Regions from separate parts of the Homo sapiens genome. Here region 1 is linked to region 2. The links are contacts of gene promoters, found by promoter capture Hi-C in human tissues and cell types (Jung and others, 2019). All regions are on one chromosome and are shown on one strand. The core of a region is centred on a gene start or on the middle of the fragment in contact, and the rest is flanking DNA. Distances in the headings are between cores, read along the strand shown. Region 1 holds the start of PLIN3 (perilipin 3). Region 2 overlaps SAFB2 (scaffold attachment factor B2).

Evidence for each region. The method cuts DNA at HindIII sites, captures the fragments that hold promoters and counts their contacts. A contact is called where the count stands out against the background at its distance.
Region 1: a contact is called between the fragment with the promoter of PLIN3 here and a fragment that was not itself captured in region 2, in 2 of the 25 tissues and cell types used here (dorsolateral prefrontal cortex and heart right ventricle).

What each region holds. Positions count from the first base shown.
Region 1 is chr19:4,864,692-4,870,552 of GRCh38, reverse strand. PLIN3 (perilipin 3) reads left to right here and starts at 2,886. Exons shown (of 8, transcript NM_005817.5): 1 at 2,886-2,944. RefSeq lists silencers at 185-264, 141-305, 2,729-2,908, a cis regulatory region at 1-472 and enhancers at 3,126-3,626, 3,569-3,918. The HindIII fragment of the contact is 15,856 bases long and covers 1-5,861 here.
Region 2 is chr19:5,604,071-5,609,994 of GRCh38, reverse strand. It overlaps SAFB2 (scaffold attachment factor B2), which reads left to right. Exons shown (of 21, transcript NM_014649.3): 10 at 5,059-5,208; 11 at 5,300-5,412. Among named protein-coding and RNA genes, the nearest start is that of SAFB2, 16 kb to the left of the region's middle. The HindIII fragment of the contact is 3,966 bases long and covers 1-3,749 here.

The DNA.
Region 1 (5,861 bases), core at 1,637-4,136, 740 kb after region 2:
GAGGCCAGGCGGGGACTCCTGGGCAGATGTTGCCATCAAGAAGAACCAAAAGCCTGGGAGATGACTCTGTCTCAAAAAAAAAAAACAACAAAAAACGGTGTGGGGCAAAATCACCAGGGCTCATCCCCTAGACCAGAGCTATTTTGTTACTCAAGGCCACTAAGAAGTTAAGGGTTAACAGGCAAATCTCCCACTGACCTTGAATCTTGGATGAGTCACTTCCCCTCTCTGAGCCATCCCAGCCCTCCCCTCCTCCCTCTCTCTCACTCACTGTACTCCAGCCACTGGGGCCTCCTCACTGTTCTAACAGGCAGGGTGTGGTCCTGCCTCAGGGCCTTTGCACGGACTGTGCCTGCTGCCTGGAATGCTGTTCCCCCTAACTGGACATGGTTCCCTCCTGGCCTCTCTCTCTTCTCTTCTTGGATGTCACTCAGAAAGGCCTCCTCTGACCTCCCTACTAAAAACTGCGGCCCCACCGGGTGTGGTGGCTCATGCCTATAACCCAGCACCTTGAGAGGCCAGGGCTGGTGGATCACATGAGGTCAGGAGTTCGAGACCAGCCTGGCCAACATGGTGAAGCCCCGTCTCTACTAAAAAAAAAAAAAATACAAAAATTGGCCAGGCATGGTGGCACAGGCCTGTAATCCCAGCCACTTGGGAGGTCGAGGAACAAGAATTTCTTGAACCTGGGAGGCGGAGGTTGCAGTGAGCCGAGATCGTGCCACTGCACTCCAGCCTGGGTGACAGAGTGAGACTCTTTGACAAAAAACAAGAACAAAATCCCCGCATCCCCCACATTCATCTCGTCCTTTGCTGTCCTACCACGTGACACATTGTAAAGTTCTCTCACTTATGTTGTTCCTTGTTCGTCTCTCCCACTGGGTAGTGTGTGTCACCAGGGCTGGAATTCTTATCTGTTTAGCTCACCGCTGTCCCCAGCGCAAGGACTCAATAAATATGGTTGAATGAGTGAATGAGAAGGAAAAAGCCTGTTACAAATGTCATGGAATGGGGTCTCAGATTCACTTGAGAATCTCACTAGCTGCCTGAAGTTACTTAAATTTAAACATTCAGGCCAAGCGCGGTAGCTCACACCTGTAATCCCAGCACTTTAGGAGGCCGAGGCAGGTGGATCACTTGAGGCCAGGAGTTCGAGACCAGCCTGGCCAATATGGTTAGTCCTCGTCTCTACTAAAAATACAAAAATTAGCTGGGTGTGGTGGCGCGCGCCTGTAATCCCAGCTACTTGGGAGGCTGAGGCAGGAGAACCGCTTGAACCCGGGAGGTGGAGGTTGTAGTGAGTCGAGATCGCGCCATTGCACTCCAGCCTGGGAGACAGAGCGAGACTCTGCCTCAAAAAAAAAAAAAAAATTTAAACATTCAGCTTCTCACTGTGCATTAGCCACGTGGTGCTTTTGGCTACAATGTTGGATGGCACACAATTCTAGAATTGCAGAAAGTTCTATTGGACAGTGCTAGCATAGACCCTGTCCCCACTCACCCCCCCAAAAAAATGCAGTCACAGACACCCAATTTTTCCCATGTTCTTTCTAAAGCTACCAGAAGCTTCATTCTATTCAAATAATTTGGCAGAGGTGGCAAACTGGTGGCCCCTGGGCTGGACAAAGCCCCAGTTGGGTTTCATTTGGTCCAATTGTTCCCTAACAGGCAGGACATGTCTACAGCTTGAACTTCCTGTGGATCTGTGACTCTCCAGGTGGGTCTCCCATAGGGCACTGCTCTCCCCTGCCCCTCTAAGCAGGGCATCACTGCCACCTCCTCAGCAGAAATATTCACCTCCTCCCTGGACCATCTGAGATTGAGACCTTGGTTTATAGACCAAGAGGATAAATAATTTGGGAGGTGGAGAGGGGCGGGGTAAAATCCAAGTGGGGGCAGCTTCAGGAAAAGGTTGATCCAGCAGTCACAGAGCCTGGAGCCTGACCCCTCCATTGCCCCTGGCTGACCCTCTCCAGGCCTCAGTTTCCTTCTCTGCAAAATAGGGATGATTAAAAAGACAATACAGTGCTGGGAGGATGAAGTGGTCTGATGTTGGGCAGATCAGGCCGGAGGCTGGACAAGTTCCCGTGGTGGTTCAAGTCACTCATATAGCTGGGTTGGGCCGGGTGCGGTGGCTCATACCTGTGATCCCAGCAATTTGGGAGGCCCAAGCGGGCAGATCACTTGAGGTCAGGAGTTCAAGACCAACATGGTGAAACCCCGTCTCTGCTAAAAATACAAAAAATTAGCCGGGCGTGGTGGCACGTGTCTGTAATCCCAGCTACTCAGGAGGCTGAGGCAGGAGAATCGCTTGAATCCAGGAGGTGGAGGCTGCAGTGAGCCAAGGTCGCGTCACTGCACTCCAGCCTTAGCGACAGAGCGAGACTGTGTCTCAAAAAAAAAAAAAAAGTGTGTGTGTGTGTGTGTGTGTGTGTGTGTACATATAGCTGAGTCGGAGCCCATGGTGGAGGGCGTGGCCCCTGACGCGCTGGCGAGGGTCACCCTGCAACTCTCCCAGGGTTCTCGCAGCCTCAGTTTGGCCATAGGGGAAATGGGCGACCTGGGGAATCCCAGCACCTGTGCGGCGCCCCCGATCGCACTCACCTCCCAGGGCCAACTTCACAGGGTCCCCAGCTGCGGAGCGGGGGTCCCGTGGCTGGGACAGGCGTGGTCCAAGAGTGCTCCCTCCCCTTCAGGGGCAGGGCGTGGAGTCCTTCCCGGACTTCATGACTTGGCGAGGGGCGGGGCCTAGTGGAGGCGGGGCAGGGAGGAGAGGGGCGGGCCTGGCGCGGGCAATCCCTCAACCTGATTGGTCCCCTCGCCCGTCACTCCAGTGCGCCCCCAACCTACCACGCAGTAAAAGCCACCCCCGCCTCGGCCCGGACGGTTTCCAAGCTGGTTTTGAAGTCGCGGCAGCTGTTCCTGGGACGTCCGGTTGACCGCGGTGAGTGGCGGGGGCGTCTCAGTTGAGCTGGGGGGCGGTGTCCATGGAGTCCTGGGGCACCCCAGGGGCCGGAGGGGTCGGGGAGGGCCTTTCTCGGGGTGGGATTTGCTGGACTCTGCGGCCTGGGGAGGGGTCTTCAGCCCAGGCTGGTCACCCCTCCCCCCAGAAAAATCCAACTTCTGCAACGAAGCTCAGACTTTGAAACCCTCTTCTCACTTCCTGGGACTTTTGAGGGGCGAAAGAGCCCCGTAGAAGGGGTGATATTGAAGGGGGTGGGCTAAATACCGCCCCCCGCCCACCAGGTTTTCTCTAAATTTTGAACAGTTTGCTTTTGGAAACGCCATTTGCAGGCAAGTTTCCTCCTGCGGGCAGAATCTCCGCCCTCCCTTCTGGGGTTTTCAGAGACACCCCCCGCCACCGCAAAGCCCCCTCCCCTACAGATGGTTTTGCCACGGGTGGGGGTGGGGGTTGCCCCAGCTCCTGGCGCCCCCAACTGATTCTGGGGAGGTCTTGGGCAAAGCCTGCCCACTTCCCTCGGGTGGGCGTGGCGACGAGGTGGCTTAAAAGTAGGAAGGCCTATCCGTTAACTGCTTTGGGGTTCTTGTCCCGGCTAGGCCTGGCAGTGGGACCTGGGGCCCTTGGAATTTTGGAAGTCCAGTCTTAGCATGCTCTGAAGTTGCTGGATGGCTGGGTCTGGCCTGGAGCTCCCCTTCTGGAGCCAGCGGCAAGGCAGGTCACTGACCCCCAGGGGTTTCATAGGGTGTTGACATCTGCCATGGCCACCCTTGCTTAAACCAGTTCCAGGAAGTCATGGTGGACAGAGGGGACGGGAGGAAGCTGCCTGAGTCCTAAGTGGGACTTGAGAATCGGTCGAGGCCAGGAGTTTGATGCCTGCCTACCTGGCCCCCTGCCCAGGTGAGCTCAGGCTCCAAAGGAGGTGAGGAGAAGCACAGATTTAGGCAATGATCACTGGGAGGTAGGTATGTCTTCTCACCTGACTTCCCAGTTGGGGGACTTTTGTACCTAGCAGGAAGCTGGTTCCTGGCTGGCTTTACCCCTTTGTCCGTGGAAGCCAGAGTGCGGTGAGATAGTTTATGGAGCACTTACTATGTGCCGGGCACGGATCTGAGCTTCCCCGGAGCAGCGTCTCCTCCAGTCCACAGGGACTCCAGGCTCTTGTGAAACACTTATACACATTTCACAGATGTGGCAAGCAAGACTCCTAGGGGATGCTGCCTTCCCAAACTCCTATTCCTAGTGAGTTGCCAAGCTGGGATTAGAACCCATTCTGGGCTGGGCAGGATGACTCACGCCTATAATCCCAGCACTTTGGGAGGCTGAGGTGGGCGGATCATTTGAGGTCAGGAGTTGGAGAACAGCCTGGCCAACATGGTGAAACCCCACCTCTACTAAAAATATAAAAATTAGCCGGACGTGGTGGCGGGCACCTGTATTCCCAGATACTCTGGAGGCTGAGGCAGGAGAATCGCTTGAACCTGGGAGATGGAGGTTACACTGAACTGAGATCACGCCACTGCATTCCAGCCTGGGCGACAGAGCAAGACTCTGTCTCAAAAAAAAAAAAAGGCCGGGCATGGTGGCTCACGCCTGTAATCCCAGCATTTTCGGAGGCCGAGGCGGGCGGATCATGAGGTCAGGAGATCGAGACGATCCTGGCTAACATGGTGAAATCCCATCTCTACTAAAAATACAAACAATTAGCCAGGCGTGGTGGCGGGCGCCTGTGGTCCCAGCTACTCGGGAGGCTGAGGCAGGAGAATGGCGTGAACCGGGGAGGCAGAGCTTGCAGTGAGCTGAGATCGCGCCACTGCACTCCAGCGTGGGCGACAGGGCGAGACTCCGTCTCAAAAAAAAAAACAAAAAAAAAAAAATGGAAAGAACCCAATCTGGACTCCAGATCTAGTGCTTGCAAAACATCATCATTTTGCTGGGTTCTGCTTAGGGGACATCGAAGCAAGGCCACCAGGAGGTGGGGCCTCATTCCTCTGGGAAAAGATGCTCAGACTCAAGGCCACAGGTTCTTAGGCTCACACCAGAATTCCCCAGGAAAGCAGCCCATAAGACAGGCATGACCTTTAGCCCCATGTTTTTTTTTTTTTGAAACGGAGTCTCCCTCTGTCACCCGGGCTGGAGTGCAGTGGTGCGATCTCGACTCACTGCAACCTCCACCTCCCAGGTTCAAGCAATTCTCCTGCCTCAGCCTCCTGTGTAGCTGGGACTACAGGTGTCAGCCAAAATACACGGCTAATTTTTGTATTTTTAGTAGAGATGGGGTTTCACCATGTTGGTCAGGCTGGTCTCAAACTCCCGACCTTAGGTGATCTGCCCGCCTCAGCCTCCCAAAGTGCTGGGATTACAGGCGTGAGCTACCATGCCTGGCTTTTTCTTTTTTCTTTGAGATGGAGTCTTCCTCTGTCACCCAGGCTGGAGTGTAGTGGCGCAGTCTTGGCTTACTGCAACCTCCGCCTCCCAGGTTGAAGCAATTCCCCTGCCTCAGTCTCCCAAGTAGCTGGGACTACAGGCGCCCGCCACCACACCCGCACCTAATTTTTGTATTTTTAGTAGAGACAGTGTTTCAGTATGTTGGCCAGGCTGCTCTTGAACTCCTGACCTCATGATCCACCCACCTCAGCCTCCCAGCGTGCTGGGATTACAGGTGTGAGCCACCATGCCCGACCCTTTAGCCTCATATTACAGGTAAGATGACCGAGGCCAGAGGAGGGGAAGGCGCCTTGCTCCAGGGAGCATAGCGTAGGTGGAGCTGGGACTCCTGGCTTCCCCCTGAGAATCTCTTCTGATGATGGTGTCCCAGCTTCATTTCACTAGTCCAGGAAAAGGGAGTTGTGGCTTCATCCCGCTTACATAGACTCACCTGGGGAACCCCGTCCTCCCCACA
Region 2 (5,924 bases), core at 517-3,016:
GTATGCCTTCCCTTGCCTCATACCATCCACTGTGATTCAGAGTTAAAAAGGAAGCTCTGCTGGGCACGGTGGTTCACGTCTATAATCCCAGCAGTTTGGGAGGCTGAGGCAGGAGGATTGCTTGAGCCCAGGAGTTCAAGACCAGCCTGGGCAACATAGCAAGATGTTGTGTTTACTAAAAAATGGAACGACAGCAGCGAAGCTCGCCCAGTCTTGTGCAGTGCACCTTGTTTCCTGACTCACAGTAACTAGGGTGCGGAGCAGGGCAGGTGGTTGGTCATATCACAACAGTGCTCAGAACAGCTGTATAAACAGCTTCTCTCTCAATGTTCTTGGGGTTCTTTCTAACTGGTCTCAAAGAGACTGGTGGTCTTTTGTCTTGTGCAAAACTTAAAGCTTACATGATGAGATTTTTCCCTTAAGAATAATTTGGGAGGCCGAGGCGGGCGTATCACCTAAAGTCAGGAGTTGGAGACCAGCCTGGCCAACATGGCGAAACCCTGTCTCTGCTAAAAATACAAAAATCAGCCAGCCGTGGTGTTCTGTGCCTGTAGTCGCAGCTACTCGGGAAGCTGAGGTGGGAGAATCACTTGAACCCAGGAGGCAGAGGTTGCAGTGAGCCAAGATTGTGCCACTGCACTCCAGCCTGGGTAACAGAGCGAGACTATGTCATAAAAAAAAAAAAAAAAAAAAAGAATGAAGTGAATAATTGACTTTCATATCATTTAGCATTTTAAGTATATAGTCTCATAACTAGAACATGATCGTGGTTCAAAAATAAATCACTAAGATGCTGCTCATGGGGGTGGGAGAAAAATAGTACAATTCAGCAGCTTTCCAAAGGAAGGTGAGGACAATTTAAAATGATTCCACTGTTTGAAATTAATTAAGAGTCTTCTTTTTTTGTTTGTTTGTTGTTCTTTTTTTTTTTTTTTTTTTTTTTGAGACTGCGTCTCGCTCTGTTGCCCAGGCTGAAGTGCAGTGGTGTGATCTTGGCTCACTGCAGCCTCCGCCTCCCTCCCAGGTTCAAGTGATTCTCGTGCCTTAGCTTCTCGAGTAGCTGGGATTACAGGCACCCACCACCATGCCTGGCTAATTTTTGTATTTTCAGTAGAGATGGGGTTTCGCCATGTTGGCCAGACTGGTCTCCAACTCCTGACCTATGTGATCTGCCTGCTTGGCCTCCCAAAATGCTGGGATTACAGGCGTGAGCCACCGCGCCTAGCCAAGAGTCTTCTGGTAAGCAATTGGCACTGCCCTGGTCTCCTGGGTGCCTCTGGGGAGTGGCTTCCAAGGGACAAGGTTCGGACCATTTAGTGTCTGGAGGGTGCCCTGATTCCAGGCAGAGTGGGCCCTGTCTGACACAGTTTTCTGGCTACAGAAGCCGTTCCTTTGTCTAGGTCTGTGTCACCCGATCAGGTGTTGGTTAATGTTTCATTGCTTAAGAAGCGGACAGGACCCGGAGAAAGCGTGCTGTTCAATTTTTCTCTGAACAGTCTGTGTGTTCAGCAAGGGCTTAGGAAATTCTTATAGCCATGAATAACCTGTTTATTCAGTTACTTTGTTGACTTCACTCGGACACTGATGATTAAGCAGAGGTAAACATACGTGGTCACTGTCATCACAGATTTTTTAGTCTGGCGGGAAAAAGACCATTTAAGAAATAAACACATATGATGTGTTGTGATGAGCGTATTAAGGAATATTAGAGCACGCCGTCAGTGTGTTGGGGAGGCCGTGTTTAGATTTGGGAGGCAGCTTCAGCAGAGCTCGCTGAAGAAGTGACATTCAGCTGAGGCGTGAGTGACAGAGTTGGCCTTACCTGTGGGGCTCAGCTCTGGACAAAAACAGAAGGACGTAGGAAGGCCAGAGGGGCAGGACACCACTCAGCTACTTGACTGAAGTATGCAGAGCCTCCAGGGCGGATGGCATAGCTCAGGGATAGGGACATACAAGCTTAGTATGGTGCCTGCTCTCATTTGGGTTTTGTCTGTCATCAGAAGAGATATACTTGTAAGGATGATTAATTTGATGGGAAGGTAGAATGGGAAGTGGCATCTGTGTTTCTCTCAGGAGAGTCTTCTGTCCCTTTGGCCCTGGACAGATTCAGGCAGAGCCTTGACTCCTCCATTTGTGTGGTCAAAACCAAGGACGTCAGATGGGAACCTCAAGCTTGTGGGTTCCACCTTGTCATTTCACAGTTGGGGCCATGAGGTCCAGAGACGGGGAATGCCTTGCTTAGGTTGATGCCCTGAGTCAGAGATAGGGCAGAGACCAGGACTCCTGTGTCCCGGGGAAATGTTTACTCTGCGCGCCAGTGGTGGTGGGCTTGGCGTTAGATCTACTGTCTTGTTCTCTATTTTCTGTTCATGTTTGTTTATTGATCTCTTTTTCCCATTTATCTGCCTTCTTGTGGGTCGAGTCCTTTTTATGACTGATGGCTTATTTGCTCTAACTCTGTGTCATTGTGGTTTACTGTAGGATTACAGTACACATCTTCCCTTACAGTCTGTCTGCAAGGGGTGCTCTGTTGGTTTCAGCGTAGTGCAAGAACTCTGTGGGAATATACTTGCATTTCCCCTCCCGTCGATCTTTGTGATGTTATTGTCATACGGTTTACTTCTCTTTAAGAAGTCACCCAATATTTTATTGGCTTTGACTTGTTGTGGTTTGGCTTTTTTGCTTTGAACAGTTGTGTTTTTTTTTGTTTTTGTTTTTGTTTTTGTTTGTTTTTGAGACGGAGTCTCGCTCTGTCGCCTAGGCTGGAGTGCAGTGGCGCGATCTCGGCTCACTGCAAGCTCTGCCTCCTGGGTTCATGCCATTCTCCTGCCTCAGCCTCCCAAGTAGCTGGAACTACAGGTGCCCGCCACCAGGCCTGGCTAATTTTTTGTATTTTAAGTAGAGATGGGGTTTCACTGTGTTAGTCAGGATGGTCTTGATCTCCTGACCTCGTGATCCTCCCACCTCGGCCTCCCAAAGTGCTGAGATTACAGGCGTGAGCCACCACGCCCAGCCAAACAGTTATATTTTAAAGAGACCCAGAAATGACAGGAAAAAATCATGTTCACCTCACCAGGTGCTCTTCGTTGCTTTTTGTTGTATATCCAAGTTCCCATCGGAGATCATCTTCCTCCCTCCTGAAGGAATTGAATGTTTCCTGTAGTGCAGGTTTGCTGGTGATACGTTCTTGTTTCTTTTGCATGTCAGAAAAAGTCTTTACTTTGTCTTCATTTTGAAATAAATTTTCACTGGGTATAGAATTCTAGGTTAATTTAATCTTTGTTCCTTCAGTTACCAATTTGTGTCTTTTCTCTCTCTTTTTCTGTGGCTGCTTTTAAGTTTCTTCTGGTTTTTTTGTTTTGTTTTGTTTTCCCTTAGAGACAGGATCTCACTGTGTCACCCAGGCTGGAGTACAGTGGTGCTCACTGCAGCCTCGAGCTCCCGGGCTCAAGCGATCCTCTCACCTCAGCCTCCTGAGTAGCTGAGACCACAGGCATGTACCACTACACCCAGCTAATTTTTAAAATTTTTGGTACAGATGTGGTTTCTCTGTGTTGCCCAGGCTGGTTTTGAACACCTGGCCTCAAGTGATCTACCTGCCTTGGCCTCACAAAGTGCTGGGATTACAGGCATGAGCCACTGTGCCCAGCCTGTGCCTGGTAATTTTTTACTGGATGTTGTGAATTGTATTTTTTGGGTGCTAGTTATACTTGTATCTCTACAAATACCCTTGAGCTTTTTTCTGGGACACAGCTGAGGTACTGGACACACACTAAGGCAGGGCCAAAGTAGCCTTCAGTTTGGGCTGATTTTGTCTCACCACTGGGCAGTGCCCTCTGAGTAGTGGGTCTGATGGCCCGTGAATTACCAGCCTTTCCACCCTGGCTATTGGGAAGAGCAAACCATTTGTGGCCCTGAGTGCCCCTCCAGTGGTTGTTCCCTCTGCTCCTGATTGTTCCCTCTGCTCCTTATGGGTGGTGCTGTCCCAGCCTCTGGTTTCCTCGCACACGTGTGCACTGGGTGGGAGGAACCCTCTGTGGGTCTCTTCAGCTTGCTCTGCGTGGCTCTGTGTGGCTGTGTCCTCTCTGATACTCAGTTCCGTGATTTCTCTCTGTCTTGGTCTCAGAATCTCAGTGCTGTCTTACCCATCCCCCATTGCCTGGGAATCTAGGCAGTGAGCAGGGGCAGTCAGGGAGCTCTCAGGGATTGTTGTCTTGGGCAGCCTGATGTCCAGGATCTGAAAACTGTCGTTGCCTACGTTTCATCACATTTGTTAGTTGTTTCAGGCAGGAAGACAATGCTTAGTTCTCCCATCTCAGCCAGAAGTGGAAGTCCTTTCCCCATGGGGACATTTCTGACAGTCCATGTCTGTGTCAGAGCTCTTCTCAGGCCCAGCTGGAGTGGATGGGTGCATTTCTTAGTAGCCCCACAGCTGTTTGTGGGCACAGTGGAAATAGAGAAAACAATGTGGATGGGTAGGACTTCTGGTTATTAGTTGTGAGTAATGAAGTTTAATGGTTTTATAACCTTGCATGTTTGTGTGTTTTCCTTGTGATGACTTATCTTGTATTAAAAGCAGTTGTATTTAGTGGCTGGGTGCGGTGTCTCATGCCTGTAATCCCAGCACTTTGGGAGGCCGACTTGGGTAGATCACTTGAGGTCAGGAGTTGGAGACCAGCCTGGCCAACATGGAGAAACCCCATCTCTACTAAAAACACAAAAATTAGCCAGGCGTGGTGGCGGGCGCCTGTAATCCCAGCTACTTCGGAGGCTGAGGCGGGAGAATTGCTTGAACCCAGGAGGCGGAGGTCGCGGTGAGCCGAGATCGCGACACTGCACTCCAGCCTGGGTGACAGAGCGAAACTGTCTCAAAAAAAAAAAAAGCAATTGTATTTGGATAGGTCAGGATTAATTAGAACCAATTCAGTAACTAAAATGGAAAACTACCATATGGGGAGAGGTGACAAATAGTGAAAATGATTCTGATTGCCAGGTAATAACTTTAGCAAGTTGTGTGGTCATTTGTATGAGAGAGTAAGAGTGCCCTTTTTCATGAAGGTTGTCGGGGCCAAAGTGGTAACGAACGCCCGCAGCCCGGGGGCTCGATGCTATGGATTCGTCACCATGTCGACATCTGACGAGGCGACCAAGTGCATCAGCCATCTCCACAGAACTGAGCTGCATGGACGAATGATCTCCGTAGAGAAGGTGAGGCAGTTCTCGTCTATGGTAACTCGCAAATGGAGTTTGCAAGTGAGAAGCTCTGGGCCACACATCATTTCTGTCTATTATATTTTAGGCCAAAAATGAGCCTGCTGGGAAAAAGCTTTCCGACAGAAAAGAGTGCGAAGTGAAGAAGGAAAAATTATCGAGTGTCGACAGACATCATTCTGTGGAGATCAAAATTGAAAAGTAAAGTGAATTTTCAAACCTCCTCTTGGAATCCCTGGGAGGAGGGCACGGGCAGCCACCATGGGCCTTGAAAAACACGCATCTGTCCCCACCTGTACCCACGCAGCCTTGCCAGCTTCCTGCTGGAGTCTCAGCTGATTTTTGTGTTCTGCTGCCACTTTAATATTCAGCTTTTATTTATTTATTTTTTGGAGACAGGGACTCACTCTGTTGCCTAGGCTGGAGTGCAGTGGCACTGCAGCCTCCACCTTCCGGGTTCAAGTGATTCTCCTACTTCAGCCTCCCAAGTAACTGGGACTACTGCAGGCGTACACCACCCAGCCAGGCTACTTTTTATAGAGACGCGGTTTCGCCATGTTACCAAGGCTGGTCTCAAACTCCTGAGTTCACATGATTTGCCCGCCTTGGCCTCTCAAAGTGCTAGGATTACAGGTGTGAGCCACCACGCCCTGCCAGTCTTCAGCTTTCTGTGTAAAGCTATTTAACGAAGTAGCCCATGTCTTTAAGAAGTG